Linked DNA regions of Homo sapiens: region 2 is linked to region 1. The links are contacts of gene promoters, found by promoter capture Hi-C in human tissues and cell types (Jung and others, 2019). All regions are on one chromosome and are shown on one strand. The core of a region is centred on a gene start or on the middle of the fragment in contact, and the rest is flanking DNA. Distances in the headings are between cores, read along the strand shown. Region 1 holds the start of ECT2L (epithelial cell transforming 2 like). Region 2 has its middle 35 kb from the start of CITED2.

The links. Contacts are between HindIII fragments. The study calls those that stand out against the background at their distance.
Region 2: a contact is called between a fragment that was not itself captured here and the fragment with the promoter of ECT2L in region 1, in 1 of the 25 tissues and cell types used here (lymphoblastoid cells).

The regions. Positions count from the first base shown.
Region 1 is chr6:138,794,327-138,797,799 of GRCh38, reverse strand. It overlaps ECT2L (epithelial cell transforming 2 like), which reads right to left and starts at 1,713. Exons shown (of 22, transcript NM_001077706.3): 1 at 1,608-1,713. The HindIII fragment of the contact is 5,811 bases long and covers 1-2,686 here.
Region 2 is chr6:139,338,268-139,341,740 of GRCh38, reverse strand. It overlaps the pseudogene LOC100129844. Among named protein-coding and RNA genes, the nearest start is that of CITED2, 35 kb to the left of the region's middle. The HindIII fragment of the contact is 5,360 bases long and covers 1-3,473 here.

The DNA.
Region 1 (3,473 bases), core at 464-2,963:
GTCAGAACTGGGTTAAATTATAGGACGTAGAGTTGGTGGCCACTGGAGAATTGGTTGTCGGTGGGAAGAAATTCCCATACATTTTGGTGACAAGAGGTGAAGGGCTGTACTGAGTGTGTGAGAGTAAAGAGAAAAAAGTTTTTTGTTTTTTTTTTCCTCTCAGAACAACCAAAGCCAGATTAAAAGATGAAATGGCTGAACAATTGCCAGCCCATATAGAGAGCTAAATCCTCACTGGGATCACACAGAAGAGCAATGATGTCAATTAACTGTGTTTCCACAGGTTATCTGTTATACAGCTGGAGAAATGCAAGTTAGTCTGGTCCTTCTCCACTACAGTAGACAGAGTGGCTTAGAAATTAAAACACTGCTCCTCGGCAGAGGTATGTACCTACATGCGCGTACTTCTGCAATTCACACATGCAAATTGTGCAATGATTCCTTTATTTATCAAAAATTTACTTCCTTAAATATGCCTCCAAAAAGGTATCTGGTTCTAAAGATCGCACAAAAGAACGGGAGTAGAAGAAAAGTAAGTGTGATTGGTGAAAAAACAGAAATGAAAGACAATTCCAGTTGAGTTAAATGTCCCACATTTAGGGCATGTAAAACTACATGCCAGTATATAATTTTTATTAAGTACACACTAAGCAATGGATAATGAAAATAATGGCGTGTTTTGAGGAAACCTGGGCTATTGATCTTACAGGCGGTGATAGAAAATACCATACTTGTGCTGGTATTTTCAAATGGTGGATGTGCTCACTGATTTATAAGTTTAAAGCTATAAAACTAAAGCTGTAACAAACAAGATGCAACTGTTGCTATAAAACTTCCAAGTCCTTAACCCTTCTTCCTCCCACTGAAATAAGTGTTTGTAGAGCATGATTTTTGAGGTTTCTGTGGAGCACAAATGTCAGTTCCTGCAGAACAGACTTTAACAGGCTTGGATACAATTGCATGGGTTGCAGTGAACTTTAACACCAATGATGTCAGGATATTGTGTTCTGATACATATGCAAAGTTTATTAATAAGCACAGCATCGGTATTTTTAAATCGATATTTTAAAGTACCACTGTTTTATTTGTCCTGCTCATCAAATCTTAGCATATTAACTCTTAGAGCTATCCTTATAACCAAGACCTATATTCACAGTAGATTTTTTGTATTCCTCCCTCATTCCCCCAACCCAGCCCCCACCCTACTCCCTACATTTTTGGACCCCATAGGAGGAAAGAGGGAGAGAACTGTCAGAAGGAAGAAGGCAGTTGGTGTGAACCTATGAAAATCAGCGTTTTCCAAAGTGTTCAAGAACTTTACTTCGATCCCAAATCAGTTCTCTGGAGGAGGTAAGAGTTTACTTGGCATGGCCCGATGCAAACCCTACCCTACGCGTGGATTTTGTTTCTCCCCAGAGCCTCTTCAGAATCTTGGTTAATTCCAGAGCTGCTAAGGGACTCCAGGGTCGCGGAGGGAGGGCCCTGCGCCCCTCAGCGCTGCTTAGGGTCTTCCTGGGCGACTGCACTGGGAAACTAAGCCGGCCCAGGCGATGTGCCCCGGGCGGCCCCAAGAAAAAGACTAGCGGCTCAGAAGCCACGGGCTTTACCTCTAGGAAGTGGCTATGAGGCCCGGTACAGTGGCGGCTGTCTCCTCTTGGAACCGCGCAGTGAAAATCGAGTGCGCCAACTCGGGCCGCAGCTCCGGAGAGGGGTGGGGCAGGGACAGGGTCATCTCCATAGGGATCCAACAACACGGAGCCACCACCCCGCCCCACAGGCCCGCAGCCCCTCCCGCCGCCGCGCCCGGACGGCCAACCTGCATCTCCCCAGCTGCAGTGAGCAAAGCCGCCCGCGCCGTGCGAGCCACCGCCCTTCTCTTGAGGCCAGCTAGGCTCGGGTCCCGGCTCCTTTCCCTGCCTCCAGGGAGCTTGCGGTGGGAGAAAGCTTCCGTGGGGTCCCGTGGGTCGCGGCACGTCTCGGAAGCCCTGCGAGGTGCCCAGCAGAGGTGCCAGACCCAAGGCCGTGGGACCCCAAGAAGAGACTTGGACACTGAAGCCAACGTTTGCTTGATCTCAAACAAAGCCAGCGATGTTAATTAAGGCTGTGTGATGAGGAAAGTGGAGTTTCTTATTTTTTGTCACATTCATCTTCAGCAGATCCTCAGAAAATGTTAATATTTACTGCAGAATTACCAATTTCAGCATTATACAGGAGGTACAAAAACAAAACCAAAAAACCCTTCTTCATTAGTTTCAGGTCAAAATGTCTTTTAACTATTTATTGTGAAGCCTGTTTTTTTCTTTTGTATGTAATAGTTATGGCCATGAAAAGATGCTCACAGTACATTACTTACAAAAAGCAGCTTAGAAAACCAGCAGAATGGTACGATCTATTTTTTTTGCAACGTGTGTAAGAAATCTGGGAGTATGTACACAAATAGGTTAAATGGTTTGCTCTGGTAGTTTTAAAAATCATCTGTAATTCAATTTTTCCTACAACGAATAAGCAACATCTATGTAATAAACCATAAGTTTCATTCTAGTAAAGTTTCATATGAGAAATGTGATCTTGCTATGCTGCCTAGGCTGGAGTGCAGTGGCTATTCACAGGCCTGGTCATTGTGCACTATATTTTTATTTTTATTTCAAATATCTTTTTCTTTTTCATCTGTATGCCAGTAAAATCATCATTGTACACTATAGCCTAGAACTCCTGGGCTCAAGCAATCCTCCCGCCTCAGCCTCCAGAGTAGCTAAAAGTACTGGTGCCTGTCACCAAACCAGGCCTTAAATTTTATTCTAATCCAGGCACTGCATTTTTTCCTGTTTCCTTGAACATGTGTTTAAGGAGTGTGAAAGGATACAAATTAGATAAGCTAATATTTCGCTACCTGGGACCCATTTAGGGCCCTGTGACACAAAGGGCGAATGAACCAAGTGAATAAACAAGGTCAATCCACTGCTCTGTCACAACCCGCAGGAACCAGCTTTTTGCTTTACTCTATCTCAGGACCAATCCAAGAAAAACATGTCACATGACAAAGTGTCCTTTCGCCCTGTCAGACCCTAGAGTACGACTTTTTCCCCCTTAAATCCCTATTCTCACAACCCAAATGAAGTTTCCTCCATGATGCTGTAATTTTTAAAAGGGGTATTAAAAAGACCAATTTACTGATCAAAATACTTTGAATTCAGAAAGCCAAAAATTATTAAAATCAAGATTTGAAAAATATTCAGTAAGTCCCTCTCCTCCCCTCCCCCAATTAGGTGCTTATTTCTGTGGCCTGGAAACAAGGAGACAGAAGCATGAGCATCTTCTGCAACACAAAGGTAACTGAGTTATAAATAAGCAAAATGTGTTCTATCCATACCATGGCATATGATCAGCCAAAACAAGAAATGAAGTACATGCAATAACATGGATGAAGCTTCAATCCTTGAAAACATCATGCTAAGTAAACGAAACCAGTCACA
Region 2 (3,473 bases), core at 643-3,142, 540 kb before region 1:
TTGTCTCCACTAAAAATACAAAAAATTAGCCGAGTGTGGTGGTGGGCACCTGTAGTCCCAGCTACTCGGGAGGCTGAGGCAGAAGAATGGCATGAACCCAGGAGGCAGAGCTTGTAGTGAGCTGAGATCACACCACTGCACTCCAGCCTGGGCGACACAGCGAGACTCCGTCTCAAAGAAAAAAAATATATATATATATAAGGAGTTTAAGAAATAGATTAGAAATTGCAGAAGAAAAGATTAGTGTATATGTGTATATGAAGACATAGCAATAGAAATTATCTAAAATTAAACAGAGAAAGAATAAACATTTAAAAAACCATGTATCACTGTGCTGTGGAAAACTTCAAGATGCCTAATATACATGTAATAGAAGTCACTGAAAAAGAAGAGAGAGGGTAACAGAAAAAAATGGGAAGAAATAATGGCCAATAATTTTCCAAATTTAATGAAAAGCATAAATCTACATATTCAAGAAGCCCAATGAACCCAAAGCACAAGAAATGTGAAGAAAACGACACTAAGGCACATCATAATTAAATTTTCCTAAACAAGTGATAGAACATTGTAAAGCAGAGAAAAACATCACAATATATTTAGGGAAACAAAGATAAGAACTATAGCAGATCTCGTATAAGAAAAAATGCAAGTGAGAAGACAGTGACACACAACATCTTTAATGTACTGACAAAAAAATTATTAAACTGTCAAACTAGAATTTTATACCAAGCAAAATATGTTTCAAGAACTAAGGTGAAATAAAGACTCTTTCACATATACAAAAGCTGAAAATATTTATCAGCAACAGACTTGCTCTATAAGAAATGTCAGGCTGGGCGTAGTGGCTCATGCCCGTAATCCCAGTGCTTTGGGAGGCCAAGGTGGGTGGATCACAAGGTCAGGCAATCAAGACTATCCTGGCCAACATAGTGAAACCCCATCTCTACTAAAAACACAAAAATTAGCTGGGCTTGGTGGTGCGCACCTGTAATCCCAGCTACTCAGGAGGCTTAGGCAGGAGAATCGCTTGAACACGGGAGTCGGAGATTGCAGTTAGCTGAGATCACGCCACTGCACTCCAGCCTGGCAACAGAGTGAGACTCCATCTCACCACAAAAAAAAAAAAAAAAAAAAAAAAAAAAAAAAAAAAGAAATATCAAAGGAAGTTCTTCAACCAAAGACATGAGGAAAAGGGAAGAAAAAGAAGAGATGGGTCAAACAGAAAACAAATGGCAAGATGACAGACTTGAATCTATCAATTATCACATTAAATATAACTTTGTCAAAACATCTCAATTAAAAGTCAGAGATTGTCAAACAGAAAAGAAACACAGGGCCGGGTGCGGCAGCTCACGCCTGTAATCCCAGCACTTTGGGAGGTCCAGGCTGGCGGATCACCTGAGGTCAGGAGTTCGAGGCCGGCCTGACCAAACCCCGTCTCTACTGAAAATACAAAATTAGCTGGGCATGGTGGCACATGCCTGTAATCCCAGCTACTTGGGAGGCTGAGGCAGGAGAATTACTTGAACCCAGGAGGTGGAGGTTGTGGTGAGCTGAGATCGCGCCATTGCACTCCAGCCTGGACAACAAGAGTGAAACTTCGTCTCAAAAAAAAAAAGAAAAGAAAAGAAAAGAAAAAAACAGAAGACCAAACTATATGCTGCATATAAGAAATGTACTCTCTCTCCATATATATTTTCTTTCTTCTTGATCAGTCTAGCCAGAGATTGACCAATTTCACTGATTTTCTCAAAGTAACTGTTTTTGGTGTTATTCATTTACACACACACACACACACACACACACACACACACACACACGTTAGATGTTAAAAGACAGAAAAAGATAATCTAGCTAACCTTAACTATAAGAAAGTTGTAGTGACTATATTACTACCAGACATGATAGATTTCACAGCCAACAATATTACATGGGATTTTTCAAGTTTATTTCATAATGATAAAAGGTCATAAACAAATCTAAACATTTATGCACCTAATAATAAAATACATTGAGCAAAAAACTGATAGATCTACAGGAGAGGCAGACAAATTATGGTTTGAGATTTAAATATTCCTCTCTTAATAGAAATGATCTGCTGATTACATTTAAACTGAGCGACTCTGCATTTTCTGGATTCTGGATGGTTGCCTTTCATGAGCCCAATCGAAGAAAGAAAATCCTTGGACCAGATGCTTCACAGCTGAAGCCCGTAGGACCGCGGAAGAATACCTTGAAGATATTGTTTGCATCAAAATCACCCAAATTTATGTCTTCCTTATCCAGGTCCTGCCCACTGTGATAATGAATCGTTTTCTTGGAATCAAAGAGGATGATAAAGACCTCGCCACTTCCTTGATCTTCTCCTCCTCCTTTTGAACCCCAGCGCTGGCTCCATCATGACGATGTGGATGGTACTTCAAGGCCTGTTTCCAATAAGCTTTCTTGATCTTGTCCTCAGAGGCATTCTTGTCACTTCCAGAACCTTGTAGTAATTATCCCTCTTACTCTTCTTCAGTTCCAGCTGTGCATTTTTTAGGAGCTGTTTGTATTCTTTTGTTTTCTCCATCTGATATACTTTTTTCATAGCCTCGCACTGTTTCTTCATACTGTTCTGTGTCCAAGAAACACTGAGCTCTTCTCAAGTAGGCTTTTATGTAAGTGTCATGAGCTTCACTGCATTTGTGCAGCTGTCTATTGCATCATCTAGTTTCCCAAGCTCGGAATTAACCATATCCCGGTTACAGTAGAGTTTAGCAATTGCTTTTATGTTGTCGGGGTCTACCCCGGGGGTTCTGCGTACAGTTCATCAGCTAGTTTGTAATTTCCTTCCCTAAACGCTTTATTCCAGTCTTCTTTCTTTGCGTTAAGTGCTCTGGCATTTCTGCACGCAAGGCAGGCCTTCTCATGGTCAGGAACCACTCTGAGAGCCTGTACAAAAAACTGAACAACTGCCTACTCAGTACAATCTTCATAATAAAGGCAAGGTCCGCGTACATACAGAGCATCCACATTGGTGGAATCCGTTCATAAAATGTCACTGGCCACAGACTGTGCTTCTGGATAACGACCCAGCATTGCTAAACATTCTGCTTTGAGGGATATTGAAGTGATGGCAGACAGGGGCAAATTCTAGGGCATAGTCCATGCAGAAAACAACCTTCTGAAAAGCCCACTTCTCAAAACTTGTTTCTATGACTTTCTCCTATTCCTTGACTGCATTAGCATTTGTGAACTCCTGTTGTGAGTGAGCATTGTTATGATCCAGTTCTAGGGCTCTCTGAAAACTGCAATGTGCTGCCATGGCATTCCCTGGAGAGAGGTGGCACTTGCCCTCTCGTAGATGTCCCCAGAAGAAACCATCATCCAATTTCACTGTGAAAGTATCTCCATGGGCTTCGCAGAACCTTCCAAGTATCATCAATGTAGCTGCTCTATTACTATGATAGCTAGCATTTTTAGGGCACATATCT